Linked DNA regions of Homo sapiens: regions 2, 3, 4, 5, 6 and 7 are each linked to region 1. Evidence: promoter capture Hi-C in 16 types of primary human blood cells and fetal thymus (Javierre and others, 2016). All regions are on one chromosome and are shown on one strand. The core of a region is centred on a gene start or on the middle of the fragment in contact, and the rest is flanking DNA. Distances in the headings are between cores, read along the strand shown.

What was found. The method cuts DNA at HindIII sites, captures the fragments that hold promoters and counts their contacts. A CHiCAGO score of 5 or more calls a contact.
Region 2: a contact is called between a fragment that was not itself captured here and the fragment with the promoter of MAP1LC3B2 in region 1, in 6 of 17 cell types (naive CD8 T cells, erythroblasts, M2 macrophages and 3 more). The highest score is 7.2, in naive CD8 T cells.
Region 3: a contact is called between a fragment that was not itself captured here and the fragment with the promoter of MAP1LC3B2 in region 1, in 9 of 17 cell types (total B cells, naive CD4 T cells, monocytes and 6 more). The highest score is 9.3, in total B cells.
Region 4: a contact is called between a fragment that was not itself captured here and the fragment with the promoter of MAP1LC3B2 in region 1, in 14 of 17 cell types (naive B cells, megakaryocytes, non-activated CD4 T cells and 11 more). The highest score is 13.7, in naive B cells.
Region 5: a contact is called between a fragment that was not itself captured here and the fragment with the promoter of MAP1LC3B2 in region 1, in 3 of 17 cell types (neutrophils, M0 macrophages and M2 macrophages). The highest score is 8.0, in neutrophils.
Region 6: a contact is called between a fragment that was not itself captured here and the fragment with the promoter of MAP1LC3B2 in region 1, in 3 of 17 cell types (monocytes, total B cells and neutrophils). The highest score is 6.8, in monocytes.
Region 7: a fragment that was not itself captured here is called in contact with the fragment with the promoter of MAP1LC3B2 in region 1 in 9 of 17 cell types (naive B cells, total B cells, fetal thymus and 6 more); the score reaches 8.9 in naive B cells.

Annotation. Positions count from the first base shown.
Region 1 is chr12:116,558,042-116,560,823 of GRCh38, forward strand. MAP1LC3B2 (microtubule associated protein 1 light chain 3 beta 2) reads left to right here and starts at 1,340. Exons shown (of 2, transcript NM_001085481.3): 1 at 1,340-1,392. RefSeq lists enhancers at 835-1,344, 1,184-1,523, 1,744-1,793, 1,834-1,933. The HindIII fragment of the contact is 18,876 bases long and covers 1-2,782 here.
Region 2 is chr12:116,103,187-116,105,886 of GRCh38, forward strand. The region is part of intron 3 of MED13L (mediator complex subunit 13L); the gene reads right to left. Among named protein-coding and RNA genes, the nearest start is that of MIR620, 44 kb to the right of the region's middle. The HindIII fragment of the contact is 2,637 bases long and covers 1-2,631 here.
Region 3 is chr12:116,161,728-116,164,592 of GRCh38, forward strand. The region is part of intron 2 of MED13L (mediator complex subunit 13L); the gene reads right to left. Among named protein-coding and RNA genes, the nearest start is that of MIR620, 15 kb to the left of the region's middle. The HindIII fragment of the contact is 2,398 bases long and covers 124-2,521 here.
Region 4 is chr12:116,143,987-116,146,686 of GRCh38, forward strand. All of the region lies in intron 2 of MED13L (mediator complex subunit 13L), which reads right to left. Among named protein-coding and RNA genes, the nearest start is that of MIR620, 3.3 kb to the right of the region's middle. The HindIII fragment of the contact is 1,525 bases long and covers 498-2,022 here.
Region 5 is chr12:116,127,812-116,130,511 of GRCh38, forward strand. All of the region lies in intron 2 of MED13L (mediator complex subunit 13L), which reads right to left. Among named protein-coding and RNA genes, the nearest start is that of MIR620, 19 kb to the right of the region's middle. RefSeq lists a silencer at 2,693-2,700. The HindIII fragment of the contact is 2,807 bases long and covers 1-2,700 here.
Region 6 is chr12:116,186,589-116,189,486 of GRCh38, forward strand. The region is part of intron 2 of MED13L (mediator complex subunit 13L); the gene reads right to left. Among named protein-coding and RNA genes, the nearest start is that of MIR620, 39 kb to the left of the region's middle. The HindIII fragment of the contact is 2,822 bases long and covers 82-2,898 here.
Region 7 is chr12:116,085,719-116,088,488 of GRCh38, forward strand. The region is part of intron 4 of MED13L (mediator complex subunit 13L); the gene reads right to left. Among named protein-coding and RNA genes, the nearest start is that of MIR620, 62 kb to the right of the region's middle. The HindIII fragment of the contact is 193 bases long and covers 1,365-1,557 here.

The DNA.
Region 1 (2,782 bases), core at 90-2,589:
GCATGAGCCACTGCACCCGGACTTAAAGTGGTTTTTAAAAAGTGCCGTGTGAGACTTCCAAATAGTACTCACGGGGAGGGAAATGAAAGGAGAGGATTGGGGAAGAAACACCTTCTATTTTTTTTTTTTTTTTTTTTTTTTAGAGACAGGGTCTTGCTCTGTCACCCAGGCTGCAGCCTGGACCTCTTGGGCTCAAGGGATCCTCCCACCTTAGCCTCCTGTGTAGCTGGGACCACAGGCGTGCACCGCCACACCCAGCTAATTTTTTTTATTTTTTTGCAGAGATGGGGTCTCTCTATGTTGCCCAGGCTGGCCTCAAACTCCTGGGCTCAAGTGATCCTCCCTTCTCGGCCTCCCAAAGTACTGGGATTACAGGGGTGAGCCACCTCACCTGTACAGCTTCTTTGGAGAATGGGCCTGGGCAGGTCAAACAGGGGCCACTCTACACCATCATGGCACAGCAAGAGCTGGGCTATGTAGGTTCAGTATTCTTTGTCATTTAATCCTTGTGACGACCTCGTGTCATCATTGCTGTTTTACAGATAAGGAACTGAGGCTCAGAGAGGTTCAGTGTCACAGCTAGCATTTCACTTACATATCACAGAGCAAAGGCTCTCTTTGTCCAGAGACAACGTGCCTTTAGGTGATAGAGCTAGGACTGGAACCCAAGTCTATCTGACTCAAAGTCCACACAGCTTGTCCCCCATCCCGCAGGGACCTCTCCACGCTAGTGAGCCCCACGAAACCCCCTCAGTGCTTCGTTCCAGTCTTTTACCTTCAAGCCCAGTCAGCGAGTTCTTTATTTCCACAAATGGTGCTATTAAACTAATGGCTTCGGGAGCTATAGGCTGGCCTCGGCACAGTTACACATCTCTCCACCCACCATGTTCTGGCTTCCAAATAAATACATTGGAAATTCCAGGAGCCGAAGCCCATTTGGAAACGTTTCCGGGCCACCATTTTGCTTTGGGATGGGCAAGAAGAGACACCCTAAACTTGAACTCCTGTCTGTGCAGCCTCCAGCCGGCCAGGCGCTAAATAAGGCCACGGCCCGTTTCCTCCTTCAAAAGTCCCTTGTAAAGGGCGATAGCAGACCCCATCAGGCAAAAAGCTGAGAAGCCAGGGTTGAAATAGAGGCCTCTTTCTGTTTGGTCAATCAGCAGCTGCAAAGGATGCGTAGGATGGAGCTAAATTTATTTGTTCCTTTCTTTCTCAGCAACAGCGACGAGGCCCGAGGTGCAGCTGTCTCGCCTCGCCTGTCTTTTGCAGGCACCGGCATGCACAGAAGATGGCTCTCCGGGAGGAAGATTCCTTTCCATTTTGTTCTCTCTCTGCCTCCGCAAGGCTCGCAGCCACCTCTCGGGAGTGCAGGGCCAGATCCTGTGCCAGCGGGTAGGAATATGTAGCTGCCTCCCAGCCCCAGGGTGGAAATCATGACCTTTGAGAAGCAGGCAAGCTGCACGGCATAGATACTCAGGCCTGGTGAAGGCAAAGTGGGGCCACACCCTAGAAAAACCACAAAAGTCCCCACAGCCTCTGCTTTCACTAGTCAGACCTGTGGGAAACTTGTAAGACACAGTCCATGTGATCGGCGGGTGGGGGCATGTTGGGAGGGGCCTTCCGAAGGCCACAGCCAGGCTGGCAGGGCAGAGTCCTTTCCAGAATTTATCTGTTTGCTTAAAGCCCAGCGGAGGGGCCACCTTCAGTCAACCCTCCAGCATACTGGTCCAAGTAGTTTTTTCAAAGTGCTTTGTGAGACTTTCAAAAGGTACCCATGGGGAGGGAAGTGAGAGGAGGAGGAGGGGACGGTGAAGAAACAGCTTCTTTATTTCTAGCCTTGCTTGAATGGCTTCTTGACGGTTACTGCTCCAGTTTTGCTGAGTCAGAAGAATCCCACAGCCGCTCACCGGAAACACAGCTGTTGGGCAAAAATAACCACAGAGCTGAGCATCATGCACCTTCCAGAAAAGATGGCAGAAAACCTCAAAACAAAAGAGAAATACAAAACAATAGGAGACACTGTCAAGAAAAAAAAAACAAAAACAAAAACCACCGCAGCTCACTAACCGATCCAAGCTGGTGGCGCTCTCCTGATCTCTCTCCACTCCCAGGCCCAGCAACGGCTCTGAAATAAAGCTAAGTTTGGCTATATATATATATATATATATATATATATATATATATATATATATATATATATGTATGTATATGTATATATATATATTTAGATAGAGTCTTCCTCTGTCGCCCAGGCTGGAATGCAGTGGCGCGCTCTCGGCTCGCTGCAACCTCTGCCTCCTGGGTTCAAGTGATTCTCCTGCCTCAGCCTTCCGACTAGCTGGGATTACAGGTGCGCCACCACGCCCAGCTAATTTTTGTATTTTTAGTAGAGACGAGGTTTCGCCATGTTGGCCAGGCTGGTCTCGAACTCCTGACCTCAAGTGATCCGCCCACCTCGGCCTCCCAAAGTCTTGGGATTACAGGTGTGAACCATCACATCTGGCCTACTTTTACACTGTAGTGGGTTTAATAGTGTCTCCCCAGTCACACCTCCACCAAAAAAAGAAAAGATATGTCCACAGTCTAATGTGCTGCAGCACCTGTGAATGTGACCTTAATGGAGAAAGGATCTTTGCAGGTGTAAATTAATTTTAGGATCTCAAGATTGAATCATCCTAGACTACCTGGGTGGACCTCAAATCCAATGACAGGTATCCTTATAAAAGGAAGGCAGATCCAGCTTGGGCAACATAGGGAGACCCTGTTTCTACAAATAGTTTAA
Region 2 (2,700 bases), core at 63-2,562, 450 kb before region 1:
ATCTCTCCTCTAGTTTTAAACTTTTAATGTCTAATCTCATTCTCCAACTACCAAATAAAATTATGTACTTATTTATTTATGTTTAGAGACAGAGTCTCACTCTGTTGCCCAGGCTGGAGTGCTGTGGCAGATCAGAGCTCACTACAGCCTCAAACTCCTGGGCTGAAGCCATCCTCCTGCCTTGGCCCCACAAATAGCTGGGACTACAAGTGCACATGTCACCACAATCAGCTAATCTTTATTTTTTATTTCTTTAGTTTTAATTTACTTTTATTTTTATTTAGAGATGGGGGTCTCGCTTTGTTGCCCAGCCTGGTCTCAAACTCCTGGCCTCAAGCAATCCTCCTGACTCAGCCTCCTGAGTAGCTGGGCTTAGAGGCACAAGCCGCTGCTCCCAGATCAATTTTGTTTTTTAAATTTAAAGTCTTAATTCCTTCCCTTGACTGAAAAATATTCACTAAATAGCTACACAGACTGATTAGTCTCAGGGTGAATGTTTCTTTCTAGACATTTACAAATAGACATGTGCTTTCAGTCACTTGTTCTACGATATCTGTACTGTCTCTTTCATTAAAGTATATGCTCCTTAAGTCTAAAGACTCATTCTCCTACTTTCTTTAGAGAAATAAACACTGTTATTTCAATAAAATTGGTATTTATTGATTACTCATTTCTTGCTCCTGTTATCACATTATACCCAACGACTGTCAATGTTACATCACGATTTCTTCAACTAGGGCGGTACATCCCACCATGCTCCAGTGAGTATGTTATTCTGAAATCCCTTCACCACCACATCCAAGGACATTGCTCTTTTTTTTTTTTTTTTTTTTTTTTTTTTGAGACGGAGTTTCACTCTTGTCGCCCAGACTGGAGTGCAATGGCACGGTCTTGGCTCACTGCAACCTCCGCCTCCCAGGTTCAAGTGATTCTCCTGCCTCAGTCTCCCAAGTAGCTGGGATTACAGGCATGTGCAACCACACCTGTCTAATTTTGCATTTTTAGTAGAGTCAGAGTTTCATCATGTTGGTCAGGGTGGTCTCAAACTCCTGACCTCAGGTGATCCACCTGTCTCGGCCTCCCAAAGTGCTGGGACTACAGGTGTGAGCCATGTGTCCGGCCTCATTTGCCCTTTGATAATCACCTCTATTGCATCACCTCTATTACAATATCACAACACATTGAAAGATAGGAATAGACAAATATAATGCTATTGTTATCATAATTATAATTTCAATTTTCCCCACATTATTTTCACTGTATATTCCAAGTAAAATATCTTAACTCTAAACACTGAATCTTGGCAAACAGAGCAGCTCTGGGCCAAAGGCAATTTTACAGCTGTGTTATAAACTACCATGGGGTAAATATGCTAACAATCCATTAGTACAGCAGCACCAGCTGACTGCTCTGAAGAGCCATTATGTTTTACAAATGTCAGATACCCACAGATTAAAGTCTCCCTAAGTAAGTATGGACATGATTAAGCATAAAACAACTTCAAAAGACCCAAGTAATCTTCTCTTGTATGCAAAGCAATCATCTGCATTTCAGAGAAAAAAATGAGCTTTCTATTGAAATTAACATATATTTTATTCTAAAAAGTTAAGAAAATTTAAAGTATACTACTGCACATAATGCCAATTTGACAGCACTGTGTCAGACCTTTCAAGTATTTCTACACAGCTAGAAAAGCGAGATTTTCCTAAGTCCCATATGTGGTACAAATCACTGAAGCAATAAGAAAAACTCTTTTAAGTTTTTGAACTGCACATATTTTCCGGCTTTTTAAAACTTTTACATCCAATATTTTACTTTATTTTGATAGAGTTAGGTGAAAAGGATATGGTATATTATGAAAACTTATACTAACTATCCTAACAAAGTAACAGCCATTAGGTCTGCAATACTAAAAATGCCAAATGAAGAAACTCTTGAAAAATGATTGCAGATTTTTTTTCCCATCGTCTATTGATAGCCAAAGTACTTTTCCCTAAGGAGTGTGAGGCAATCTGAACTTAAAACACAAAGTGTAACCTTTGAGAAGTTAATCATAAATACCTAACAAAATTTCCCTAAATTGAGGACTGATAAAGAACAATCTCAACTGGTGCATTATTAGAAAGGGAGGAAGGATGGAAAGAAGTAGAGGGGACTAGCAGAGACTCTACATAAGTAAAAACTACATTTTATCATTCTGCGCATTTTATCATTCTGTGCATTTTTCCAACAAAAAAAGATAACTGATCATTAAGAAAATAGGAAGCACATTTACTTTTTCAAAAGCAAGGAAAAATAAGTGTAATTGCATGATCTAAAACTATAAAATTCAGAATGTATACTCTCAGATACTGAAATTCTGACAAATTACAAATAAAAAATGTACCAGAAGAAGCCAATAAGACTCAAAGTTTTAAAAACCAGGTATAAATATAGCCATAGGTATGTTTCAGAAACATATCTGTTTCAGTAACATAACTGGCCAGCTGTCTGGAAGACAGATTACAGTAACAGAACGGGAAGATAACTCAATTAATAGGTATGGCAGACATATTCTTTTCCCAAAGGTATACTATCCCAATGTGTATACTATATAAATAAATGCTATCCCTTCCTGTCCCACTGATATCAAGCTTGGCCATGTACCTTGGGTATCTTCCTACTGAAAGATGATACCTTGTTATGCATTAGATTTTAAGG
Region 3 (2,865 bases), core at 73-2,572, 400 kb before region 1:
CTTCCCAGAAAAAAATTACGTCAACGCTAACAAAACAAATATATATTGGCTTGAATATAAAATGACAGTGTTTTAACCTGAGTAAATTCCCTTGTGTTTCTAACCTAACCACTCCCCTCATCAAGCTTCTTCACTATTTATCCATATGCTCTCTATCACCTTTACTCACTGTATCTTTTTTTAAAAAAAGAAATGGAATATCTAACAAGTTCTTAGGTGACGGGGGCAGGGGGGCAAAGAAAAGAAACACGATCTTGTATAACTGACAATGGCTACATCCATGTGAATACTCCATATGGGAATAATAACCTTTCAAGTGTTAACAAAGTGGAGTCACTCATGCCAAATGTCATATAATCAAACTGCAACTGTAAGAAAGCAGATAGATCCCAAAACAGACGAGTTTTTCCTAAAAACAGGAGATTCTAGCCTACCTGAGTCAGAACAAGAAAGTCCCCTCTGCTTTAACCCTTATAAAAAAAAAGTAAACTGAAGTAATCTATTGTTAACTAATCAGCTTATTTTCCCCATTGTTATGTTTCCTCATTCCCACCTCACAAAACCCAATAGTCTGCCATTGCCCAGTAGAAGCTGTGATTCTATTAGAATGGAGGCTGCACCGATTCATGAATCGAGAATAAAAGCCAATTAGATACATAACTAAATGAGTTTTAATTTTGTCTTTTGACACAAGAGTAAAAGTGGATATGGAAATATCCATGTGAGTATGGACTAATACAAGAGGGTTAAGGATTGGTAAGCCTACATGGTTATTTATATAAACTCCATCCATGGATTTCATGTTGAATGTAAAGGCATAATCTTTCAGGCCCAAAGACATTTTAAATTTTTTAATGTTATCACATGTTTCCAACTTAACCTAGAAATTATTTAATCAATGTTTTGAGAAGAATTAAGTACTAGACAGTAACTATAAAATTACTTCAGAAACAATAAAATTCACATATCTCCAAATAAACCTATTTGGAAAATAATATGATCAATCTGTTATCTTGACCACTAATTTGTATATACAATTCCTCGTAAGTTATACTTTTATGTCAAGTGACTTTTTCTATTTTTCTCTTTTACTACGTCTTAACATTTTAAATGGTAAAAATTCAAGTTGAACTGATCATTGAAGTCTTATTAAATCAAGACTTTTAAAAATAAAGATAAAAAATAAATAAAGAGACAAGGTCTTGTTATATTGTCTAGGCCAGACTAGATTCAAACTCCTGGGCTCAAGTGATCCTTCCACCTCAGTCTTGAGAGTAGCTGGGACTACAACTCAGGCCACCATGCCGAGTTTAAATAAAGACATTTTTAATGCAAAATACAATTATTTCAGAATTTTTTATGACTTGGGACAATGGCAAGACTGAAGATTACTTTTGCTTAAACTATTTCTTCTCAAATAGTTACAAAATACAAACAAAACTGCCTAATATATTCATGAATCAAAACAAAGGTTTAGGTATGATAGAAGACACCAGAGGCAGGTATTTACAAATCAATAAGCTAATTGCACTATCATCCTTATTAGTTAAAAAGCCCTATCAAGTATATGACATTAAATATATATCTTTATATAATAAAAATTCATGAATAATTGCACTGTTTATAGGTGAAGAATTTTTTTTTTTTTTTTTTTTAAGACAGAGTCTTGCTCTGTCACCCACGCTGGAGGGCAATGGTGCGATCTCGGCTCACTGCAACCTCTGCCTCCCAGATTCAAGTGATTCTCCTGCCTCAGCCTCCTGAGTAGCTGGGATTACAGGTGTGCACCACCACACCCAGCTAATTTTTGTACTTTTAGTAGAGACAGGGTTTCACCATGTTGGTCAGGCTGGTCTCGAATTCCTGACCTCATGATCCACCTGCCTCGGCCTCCCAAAGTGCTGGGATTACACTGTGCCTGGCCAAGGTGAAGAATTTTTAAGTGTATTGAAAAGGGTATTTACAAAAATTCATAGTAAAGCCCTTCTAAATAGAGAAGTACACATATCATACATAATAACTGCTTAGAGATGAATTAAGCTGAAATTGCGTTTTTGAATTTTTTTATAAAGGAGACTATTTCCTAATATAAGCCAATCTCCCAGTAATATCTTCAAATTGCTAAGCCTATACTAGAGAAATCAAATTCACAATAATGGTATACTTCAATGCCATAATATCAAATGAATAAAGCAGTAATTTTCTTCATTCACTGAAGGCAGCACAGGACAAAAGAAGTAAAACTGAAAATGTTCTTCTTGGGAGAAAAAGGGAAATATTTTAAGTTCAATAGTAAGAGATGACCTATGTAAAATTCATCAGAATATTTCCCAGAAATTTTCACATACTTAAAAAGAAACAGGTCCATTCACAAGTTCACGAGCTATGACTGGGTTCAATGCTTGCTGCTCTTCAAGCACAGTATTTCATCATATATTTCATTCTTTTCCCATCAGCACTATGCACCAAGACACATGAAAGTGCATATCAAATAAAAAAACTGAATAGTTTCTTACCACAAAGCTTCACTTTTGTTATTTCAGAGACAGATATAAAAATGTATTTAAACAATCTCAAATAATTAACTCATGAGGTGACCCCACCTATCAACAATTCAACTTCCTCAACCAAAATCTTGTAAGTATGAAAGAAAAAAACCAACAACAAAAAAGGAGACTTAGGAACATAATAACAAAATACAAAAAAGAAACACATTTTGTTTATTTATTTAACTGAAACAGAGGCTGCTGCAGCTGCAGGAGCCTTTTCTGACTGATGTGACATGAGCTGCTACATTTAAAACCAGACGCTTTAAACAGATGGCTATTCAGTTAAAGCCTTCAGGCTTATCTCCCACACTTGGTC
Region 4 (2,700 bases), core at 10-2,509, 410 kb before region 1:
TTAATAGAAGCCAGGTGATTACCCAGAGCCACAGAACAGGCACACAGGCAGTTTCTCTTTGCTTGGCCTTTCCTTTGCCCCTGTGTTCCATACACAGCACACAAGAAAGGATTCTGACTGAGCTGAGAAATTCCTGCTATTTCACTGCCCCAACAGCTTAACTCACAGCCCTGAAATACTCACACCATTAACTCATGTGATTCCATTTAAAAGAATGTTTCACAAAAACCTTTCCTCATTACTAAATGAAACTCAGCCATCACCGATAAAGTCCACATCCTAATTTTGGATGAGAAGTAAGGGTGGTGCCCAACTACTCCTCAAATTTCCCCCATCTCTTGTCCTTCACTGTCCCAAAGGGCCCAGCTCCCAACAGTTCGACCCTGATAGTGAACTGAGATCCCATTTCTGAAATTCTGGGTGATTCCAAAACTGAGTTTGGTCTGAGAATCTTTGTCCCAAATCTATTTCCTCACAAAAAAATTCCCTAAAGAAAAAGCTTACCCCAAAACATAAAATCTTGGCTCAAAGCATGCTCAATATAAGTTCTGCATGTTTGTGGTTAATCAATGTGGCTAATACAACTAATAGCTGACCTACTGTAGTTTTTACTATGAATTCAGAGTACATTTTCTGAAACTCCAACTACTTTATGCAAACATTTTTAAAGATTAACTGAGATAACACGTAAAGGTGCTTAAAATAGTGTCTCTGGCAGAGAATATGTTCCATAAAAGTGAGTGGGTTTTGTTTTCCCAAAAGGTAAGTCATCTGGGCACTGAATCTGATATGCAATTAGCAACATGAAATAACCTCTCTCTGGCTGCTGTACATTACCGTATCTAAGGAATTTAACTTATCTGCTATCTAATAATCAAAATTTATGCTACAACACCGCTTCAAGTTGCACTTCACTGCATCACTTGTACTGTTTCTGTCCCATGGTTGCTCCACTTAATTCATCCCATACCACTTATAAGGTAATTACGTGTATCTGTGCATCTCACAAAATACGCACATACTCTGTTGTCAGTACACTGACTTCACATTATGATCCTATTTTCTTCATATGGCCATTTAAATAAAACTGGCTTATCCAACATCACCTTCTTCAGAACAACAAATTAATATCTGCCTCATACCAAACAGGGTAGCGAAACTTCCACCTACCATCTATTGTTTGATAAGGCAATGCCAATGTCAACCAAACCAATAATAATCCTAAATGGCAGATGGAAATCCTTAACAAGGAATCCTGATACTCAATCTCTATGCACATCACTACATATCCTTAAGAAAAGGACTCCATGGTGTGCATACAAAGATTTCCTCATCACAGGCTGAAAAGCAACCTAGAACAGGTATTCTGGAACCGAGCCCAGGGGAGGCGGATGCTTGGCCTAGCTCATCTAAAAAGTACCTTCCAGTACTAAAATTCTAGGCTTTCCTGCTTCTATACAGTTGTTAAAATAAATGGCATACAGTTCCTCAGCAGTTGCTTCAAGCGCTTTTTTTTCTTTTCTCTTTGAGACAAGGTCTCACTCTGTCATTCAGGCTGGAGTGCAGTGGTGCGATCATAGCTCACTACAGCCTCAAACTCCTGGGTGCAAGTGATCCTCCCACCTCAGCCTCCAAGGAGCTAGGACTACAGGCACATGCACCACACTCAACTCTATTTATTTATTTATTTATTTATTTATTTATTTATTTATTTATTTTAAATTTTTGTAGAGTCTTGCTAAGTAGCCTTGGCTGGTCTTGAACTCCTGGCCTCAAGCAATTCTCCTGCCTTGGTCTCCCCAAGCGCTGGAACTAAATCTAGGTGACAGCCACTGTGCCTGGCCTCAAGCACATTTTTAGTCTAAGCCTCATGAAGTTTAAAAAAAAATCCCCACACATAGAGGCATGCTTTAATCGTATGTTCCAGGTTCTCTGCAATAAATAAACCAAATAAACCAAATTCTTTTCTATTTGTGACCCCAAAAAGTTTTTAAAATTCACTAGCAAACAGACTTTAAATCAAGCTTGTTGAACCCACAGCCCGCGGGCCGCATGAGGCCCAGAACGGCTTTGACTGCAGCCCAACACAAATTTGTAAACTTTCTTAAAACATTATGAGCTATTTTGAGATTTTTTTGTTTTTGTTGGTTTTTTTGAGATGGAGTCTCGCTCTGTCACCAGGCTGGAATGCAGTGGCGCAATCTCGGTTCACTGCAACCTCCACCTCCTGGGTTCAAGCGATTCTCCTGCCTCAGCCTCCCAAGTAGCTGGGACTACAGGTGTGTGCCACCATGCCCAGCTAATTTTTATGTTTTAGTAGAGATGGGCTTTCACCATGTTGGCCAAGATGGTCTCGATCTCCTGACCTTGTGATCTGCCAGCCTCAGCCTCCCAAAGTGCTGGGATTACAGGCGTGAGCCACCGCACCCAGCTGAGTTTGTTTTTTGTTTTTTCCTTTTTTTTTTTTAAAGCTCATCAGTTATCCTTAGTGTTCGTGTATGTTATATGTGGCCCAAGACAATTCTTCTTTCAGCATGGCCTAGGGAAACCGAAAGATTGGACACCCTGCTTTAAATCTTGATTAAATTCCCTAAATAGCCAACCATGGTGACTCACGCTTGTAATCCCAGCACTTTGGGAGACGAAGGCAGGGGGGACTGCTTGAGGCCAGGAATTCGAGACCAGCCTGGCCAACGTGAG
Region 5 (2,700 bases), core at 52-2,551, 430 kb before region 1:
TCCTGCCTCTTAAAGCCTTATTTTAATGGCTTCTCATGGAATTAATAATCTATTTAATAAGCTCCTTACCATGGCCTACAAGGCTCCACCTGATCAAACCTCTGTCTACCTCTTCCAACACCCTCTGTGTACTCATTTCAACAGCACTGGCCTTCTTTTTTCCAACAAAGTGAGCTCAAGACATCTGACTTCCTTTTCCTGTATCTGGCTGTCTCCTCCAAGCGGCATTCCCTACCTGACCCTCTAATGGAAAGTAGTCCTGTCCCAGTCAGTCACTTTCTCATCTATTGCTTTGTAGCAGACAACTGTAAGAAATTATTCATTTACTACTTGTCTTCTCACCCACAAAGAAGAATGTCAGCACGATATGTACAAGGGCAATGTCAATCCTTGTGTGCTTACTATACTGCAAAGAACCTTCCACAGAGAAAAACATTGTGACCCTGAGGAAAACATTCAAAGTGGAGCAAAATGCAACCTAATATGATTCTAAGGATTTTTATACTACGCAAAATAGCCAAACAGACACGTTTATAAAAGGCTTAGCTTTTCTTCCTACTGACAATTGAAGGCTCTTACTTGAACCCTTGATAATCAACAAGATTAGAATGACTAATGAAGGGTATTCTTGAGGAAAAAAAAAAACAAGAAAATAAATTAAAATACCACAATAAACTCACAATGTAAAGTAGTTACTGTCATGAAGTGGGTCTCCTAAGAGTTTAATGTTTTAAAATCAGGCAACTTTAACTTATAAAACTTCTATCCCAATAAGAAACATTTAGAAATGGAATTAACTCTTTATTCTCTTTCCTATGCATAATTCATTCTACTTATCAACTCTATAGGCTATTACTACAGATGATAGCTCTTAATCACTATAAATTTACAATGTCCTATCAGTCGTGTTCATTATATCTGAAATAACAAAATAAAGTTACACAGTTATGGAGTGATATTAAATTAAATTCATATTACATATTGATGTAAGTGCATGTAAACAAGAATAGGGCATATGTGTTCCATGTTCCATTCTATTAGGTACAATGAGCTAAGGTCCCTACAGTATTTATCATAAGCCACATCTACAAAGGTTGAGGAATCTTTTATTTTCCCTTGAAGAATGAGGGGGAACATAATGCAAAAAAAAATAAAAGTGGAAAAATGCTGTAGCAGCATTTTTGTGGACGTTTTAGTAATTTTATATTATTTTCTTCCTGGAAAATCAGCTTCCATATAATTATTCTCAAGTATCTCTGGCTTATTCATACACCATATTTTTGTGATTGTTTCTCACCAATTTTTAAAACAGAATTATTTTTAATAAAGTATAACTCAAGGCTGGGCATGGTGGCTCATGCCTGTAATCCCAGCACTTTGGGAGGCCGAGGCAGGTGGATAAAAATATTTATCATCTATTTGAGGATAACCCAAATATTATACTCTGAGACAGATTACTAAAAATCCCATTTTCAGGAGAGTTATTAAAATGAAGGTGAAGAGAGAAGAAACTGAAATACAATGGCTCTTTTAAATCAGCTAGACAACTATTCACTATTCGTATTCATTTTGTATCCTTCAGTCTAGAAAAAGCAAGGCCCTTTTTAACTTTCAATTAGTCATACACTGTCCTGTTTATTTTTTCTCTAGCCATTTTGCCCCTTTGGAGGTGAACGTAAATTAAATCAAAGACATATAACACACAGACACTAATTTGGGAGTGGATTTTTGCCTACCCAAACCAGACATTACGCCTTGGCAAGGGAGCAGCTCTGTATAAATAAGACTATTCACAAGATAGAAATGATCAGCACAGGCCGGGCACGGTGGCTCACGCCTGTAATCCCAGCACTCTGGGAGGCCAAGGTGGGCGGATCACCCAAGGTCAGGAGTTCGAGACCAGCCTGGCCAACATAGTGAAACCCCATCTCTACTAAAAATACAAAAATTAGCTGTACATGGTGGCGCGTGCCTGTAGTCTCAGCTACTCTGGAGGCTGAGGCAGGAGAATCACTTGAAACAGGGAGGTGGAGGTTGTAGTGAGCCGAGATCGTGCCACGGCACTCCAGCCTGGGCAACAGAGTGAGACTCAGTCTCAAAAAAAAAAAAAAGAAAGAAAGAAAGAAAGAAAGAATGAAATGATCAGCACATATCCATTTACCTCAAGAGTAGTCACCAAAACTTCAAAGTGCCATTAAGAACAGCATCAATGCTTTTGTCTAAAAGATCTCAGAGGCTCTATAACAGACCCTTGATATCATAAACATTCATGACTTTCCAGGAAACCAACAGGTTTCTTAAACTCACAAAAAACTGCCTAAACATTTTTGATTAACTATGAAAATCATACTCTCCTTTGAAAGTGATCATACTTGTATAAATTTAAGAAAAAAAATCTTGGCCACACTGGAATAACATAAAAATGTTTTATACTTGCTTTACTTTAGTTCAGGTTAAGAATGACTATTTTAAAAATAAAACTCTCCAGATTGTGCAGCTTCAATTTTCCACTGCTCATTTTCTATGACAATCTGACCAAGAATTCCCCACAGCCACCCGCTAGGAGGGGAAAGAAAAGCTGATACCCTAAAACCTCATTCAAGAAAAATAAGCATCTCTGACAACATGTCTAGTTTTTCCAAAAATATTAATGAAAAGGTAACGGTATCATAAACTGAAAGGCTGTTTTAGAAATGAGCA
Region 6 (2,898 bases), core at 243-2,742, 370 kb before region 1:
GGAAATTAAACCCCAACTGGTTAAGTAACCCATACAACATCTTTACAGTGAGGAAAGTGCAAAAGCTGGTACTAAAGTCCAAGCTTTGTGATACTTGGTTTACTGCTTTTGTTTCACTACACCACTCTGTCCCTGGACAAGCTGGAGCAAAAGGTCAAAACCTAAAACACAAAACAGGGTAGACACAGAAACACTGAAGAGCACAGATCCAATAATAACTTTTATAATTTCCTCTAGTTCTAAAAGTCCATATTTAATGTACCACTGTTGTTCCTCTCAACAGCAACCTAGAAAATGTGTTCCCAAGTCCACACTTTTCCATTCAAAATTCTTTCTATAACTAATCAAACCCATCTTTTCTACTGCTCTCCCAAACAAACCTTCAACTCCAAACAGCTGCTTCCTGCTATGCCGCACACAGCATGTTTATTAATACCCAATGCTTTGTACTCAGGCAGCTAGCACTTTCCTACCCACACTTGCCCCCATGTTTTTTGTTTTTGCCGAACTGCCTTAATGACTCCAGCTCACCGATTCCAGGCTATTACCTATAAAGTGAAATTTTGCATTTTATCATAGCTATAATGTGGGCTATTTTCTCTATGGAAGTCAATACAAAATAGTGGTTAAGACCAAGGACTATGGAGCCAGAGCCCCTCCTCTCTCACTTACGTGTTCTTTGGTTTGAGAGACTACTTGACCTCTCCATGCTTCAGTTTCCTGTCAATCAGCAGGAAATCATAGTATAGTCCCTACCTCACAGTAATGATAAAATGAGTTCATACATAAAAAGTGCTTTAAACAAAGCCTGACACACAAATAATGCTCCTATGTCAGTGTCTATCATTGTCATTTCTTCCAGTATCATGGTTTAATAGATCACCTCAGAACTATAAACTATCCCACAATGCTGGACACATATTGTTTTATGTAGAAGTTATATTTTAGTCATATGCTTTTAAGTCTTTCTCTGCAAAAGTTCAATTTATCAGGTTTTCTCTAACATGCTTATTTTATAATGTACAAGAGTATATCCTAAAATTATATTTCTATAATATAGAAGATATAACTATGCTAATCATAGGGGATGTATAGAAGTGAGTATCTGCTCTATTAAATCTGGAATCTGTACTGATCCAACTGTTCCATTTAATCAAATACCATGCAAACTATTAAGAGCTCCCTCTGACTTTAACAGCCGATTTCCCAGAGAAAGAGCAACTCGCTACTAAAAGATCTTAATAATACACAGGGCCTGGAGGGTACTGCTTTTTTTCTTTTTCTTTTATAAGTTAAAAAAAAAAAAAAAGGCTTTTCCTGTCAACAGAAATCAGTGAAAAGCCTCTTGAACACAGCAAGAAGGTAGGGTTGATTTTAGCCACAATGTAAGTCCCTGCAGAATTTCAGAGTGCCAACAACAGTGTCACTTTTCTCACTCATTCATTGGATTTATTTGTGGTTTTTCAGGACTACGATAATCTGTGCAACATTACTGGCTCCTCACCAGTATTACATTTTACATAACATAATTAACAAATTATTAAAAAAAAAAATCACTGTCATGTCACAGCTGCTATTATTAATCCTGAAAAGAAATTATAAACATAAAGGAATAAGTTAACTATATTATGGCTAACAAAACCAATTTTACATTTCTAAAACCATGTTTTTGAATAGTTTGAGCATAAGTATTCATGTAAAAAAGTACAGGGAAAGAAATCTACACCAAAATTAAAGGATACATTGAAGATCCTCAATTTTCAACAACTTACAAAGAATGAAAACAGTCACAGAAACAGAGTGATCTCAGTTCAAATTTTATATACCCAGCAATATATACAAATGCCAACAAGCTAGGTAAAACGGCAAATGAGTCCCTAGCTAGTAAGGGGAAAAGTAATTCACTTACATTAATTTTCAATTAAGTTTTAGTTTGTGTGAGATAGTCAGAGATTCACATGCAACTGTCAGAAATAATACCAAAAGATTCAGTGTACCCTTAACCCAGTTTTCCCAATGCTAACTCTTCCAAAACCGTAGTACAACATCACAACCAGCATATTGACACTGATATGGTCAAGATACAGACTATTTCCATCACAAGGATGCCTCATGTTCCCCTTTTATAGTTTCACCAACTTTCCTCCCACTTCCACCCCTCCTAAACCCCGACAACTACTAATTTTGCTGTATCTTTGTCATTTCAAGAACGTTACATAAATGGAATCATACACTATATAACCTTTGAGATTTTACTTTCCACTCAGCATCATTTTCTGGAGATTTATCCAGGTTACTGTATATCAAGACTTTGTTCCTTTTGTTACCCAGTAGTATTATATTGTATGGATATACAGTTTAACCTTTCATCTGCTGAAGGAGACCTGGGCTGTTTCCAGTTTAGGCTTTTACAAATAAAGCTGCTATAAACATTACGTATAGGTTTCTGCACAAACATACGTTTTCACTTCTCTGGGATAAATATCCAGGAATACAACTGCTAAATGATAGTTGGCATGTTTTGTTTTTTAAGAAACTCCAAACAGTTTTTATACACCCTCCAGCAACATCCTCTCCAGCATTTGGTGTTGTCACTAATTTTTCATTTTAGTCATTCTGTCAGGTGTGTAATGATAGTTCACTGTAGTTTTAAATGGCAATTTTGGTAAAAACTAATGATGCTGAACATCTTTTTATATGCTTACTTGCCATGTGTACATATCTCTTCGTATCTTTTGCCCATCTTCTAATTGGACTAGTTGGATTTTTTTTTAATACTTTGCGTTGAGAAATCTCTATATATACAAGTACTAGCTCTCTGTCAGACATGCGGTCTGCAAATATTTTTTCCCATTCTGTAGCCTATCTTTTCTTCCTCCCACAGGGGTTTCTTGCAGA
Region 7 (2,770 bases), core at 211-2,710, 470 kb before region 1:
CTCATCTTCTAAATTCAAGAGAAGATTAAAATCACTCACACACACACACACACACACACACACACACACACGACATTAAGAACAGCAGAATAAACATGTTATTGATAAATTTAGAGGTAAAATGCCAGAAGAAACAGAAATCTTACTTCAGGGGAGCAACTCAAAGAAGAGAGATGGAATTTAACTTGAATTGCCAGGGAAGACAGAGTGGGTGGGAGAGAAAGAATATGAACAATGAGAAAATGAGTTTAGACTATGCTAGAACTGTGAAGGACAACTCTGGCTGGATAAAATGGCTTCTGCTGGGGAGCAGAAATGCTAGACAACGCTTGGGCGATCCCTACACAATTGACACCACATTATGTTCTTCTATTGGAGAGTGCTTCACCAAAAGTAGTCTAACCAAAGTATATACGAGGGCAGAGTGATTTGAAACAAAAGAAACTACAAGTCAAGAGACATAGGCAGAAGACAACAAAAACAGACCTAACATTCTATCAAGGAGGCAGCTCCACAGTTTCCGTAAAATGTAGTATTTTAATTTAGCAGTTTTCCACGATAATTCTTTTTTTTTTTTTTTTGAGACAAGAGTCTCATTCTTGTTGCCCAGGCTTGAATGCAACAGTGGGATCTCAGCTCACTGCAACCTCCGCCTCCCGGGTTCAAGCGATTCTCCTGCCTCAGCTCCTGACTAGCTGGGATTACAGACTTGCACCACCACGCCCAGCTAATTTTGTATTTTTAGTAGAGACGGAGTTTCTCCATGTTGGTCAGGCTGGTCTCAAACTCCCGACCTCAAGTGATCTGCCTGTCTCGGCCTCCCAAAGTGCTAGGATTACAGGCGTGAGCTACTGTGCCCGCCCCATGATATTCTTTAACCATAAATATCAAGCTATTATACTTCAATCTTATACAACTGTTAATAAAATCCTAAATGAAGCATGCAAGCCACACTTAACAGGTTCTCAGAGACAGATCTAATAATTTCTACGAACCATACTTAAAAGCTTTATTTTTATAACATCATTTAACACTCCACAACAAATAGTCATATTGTTATAATATACATTATGCATTTTCAAAATTTTTTCCTTTGACTCCATAAAAGGATAGCAACAGAACCACAATGCTAGTAAACACCATATTTTCAAATTCATACCAAAATCATGGTGATTTCAAACATTTGGTAAGACTACTTCTTTAAAATTAGAAAACAGCTGATGTCATTATTTTAGGGGTAAAATCAGTATACGATATGACATTTCTTATATTGCCATTATGTAGAAAGATTTATAGTAGAAACACCTACCTTATTTAATGCAAATTGTGTATATAAAAACTGATTCACAAATATTTGATTGGCAAGCTTTCTCTAGTACAAGAAATTACCAACATCATAAAAAATTCTCCTTATTTTTTTCTAAATATTACTACCACCAGTTTCACTACTAATAGCAAACAGCTACCATTACACAATAACCAGATGTTAGGTTCTGTATTAGCTACTTTATTTATGCTATCTTATTCAATACCATAAAATTCATCACAAAAAAGGCAAGCTTAAGTGAGTAATTTCAAGCTTAATAGAATTTATGTAATCTTTTTCTTAACATTTTAAATTGTTTCCTTAAACTAATGAGGAAAAAAATGTTAGAAAAAAAAGTGTAAAGTCAACCAAAAGCAAAAATATGAAACTGTATTCTTAACCATCTTTCCAGAAATGAATATTCTTGTCGAAAGAGAAATGTTCTGAAATCTAACTCTAATCTACAATGCTTTCCCCCTGCTGCCAAGTTGCTACACAGATGCCACAGTCAGAAAATTTTACCAAGTGTGATCACACTTTTCAAAGAAAGGACCCCATTTACTAACAGCACACTACGAATCAAACAGGCAGCCATCCCTCAATCGCCTCCATTCCCCTTACAATCCTATCATCTGCCTTTCAGCCTTGTTTGGTCACCTCCCAGACCTTCCTTCCTCTTACTGGTCTGTCTCATTTCTCATCATCCTACCTCATTCTGCAAAAAAAAGTTCATAAGGGCTGTTAAGAAACATTTGTATAGAGCACTAAAAGTGCATCAGGAAAAGGTTTTATATAAATGTTAACTCCAAATATATAATAAAGATCTTTTATGTCTATACATTTTTTAAAAGATGGTACCCTCCTTGACAAAGGATGGTATGCAACGTCAAGTTTTACATCCTAAAATACGTATCAGGTTCCCCATCCAGTAGTACAAAGTAGTTCCTTCCACTCCAACATGACACTCCCTTTAAATAACAACTATAAATTATGAAGAAGATATTAAAATCTGCAAAAACCTGAGTTACCAAATGCAGGAAGATCCTGGGGGAGGGGAAAGAGTTTACCACCAGAAGGAGGAAATGGCACTGAATCAATCATCCTCATTCTCATCACAGTTGTCCACCTACCCCTCCACCCCCCTTTTTAAACAGTTTGTAGCATAGGGCAGACTGAACCACAACAGCTAAAACTAACAGAAACCCGACCTTGGTTCTTAGTGGCAAAGAACCAGAGGACTGAGTTAAAGAGACCACAGCTGCTGAAAATGAGAATAGAAATTCTGGAAAGAAGAGAATCAAAGACACAAACTCTGCCCAAATCTCTGGCCAATTCCTACACTATGTGCATGGTGCAGGCTCTCAACAGCCCTCGGAAGGCTAAAACAGTGGTTTTCAACCAGGGGTGACTTGCCCTCCCAAGGAAAATCTGGCACTATCTGGAGACATTTTGGGTTGTCACGAC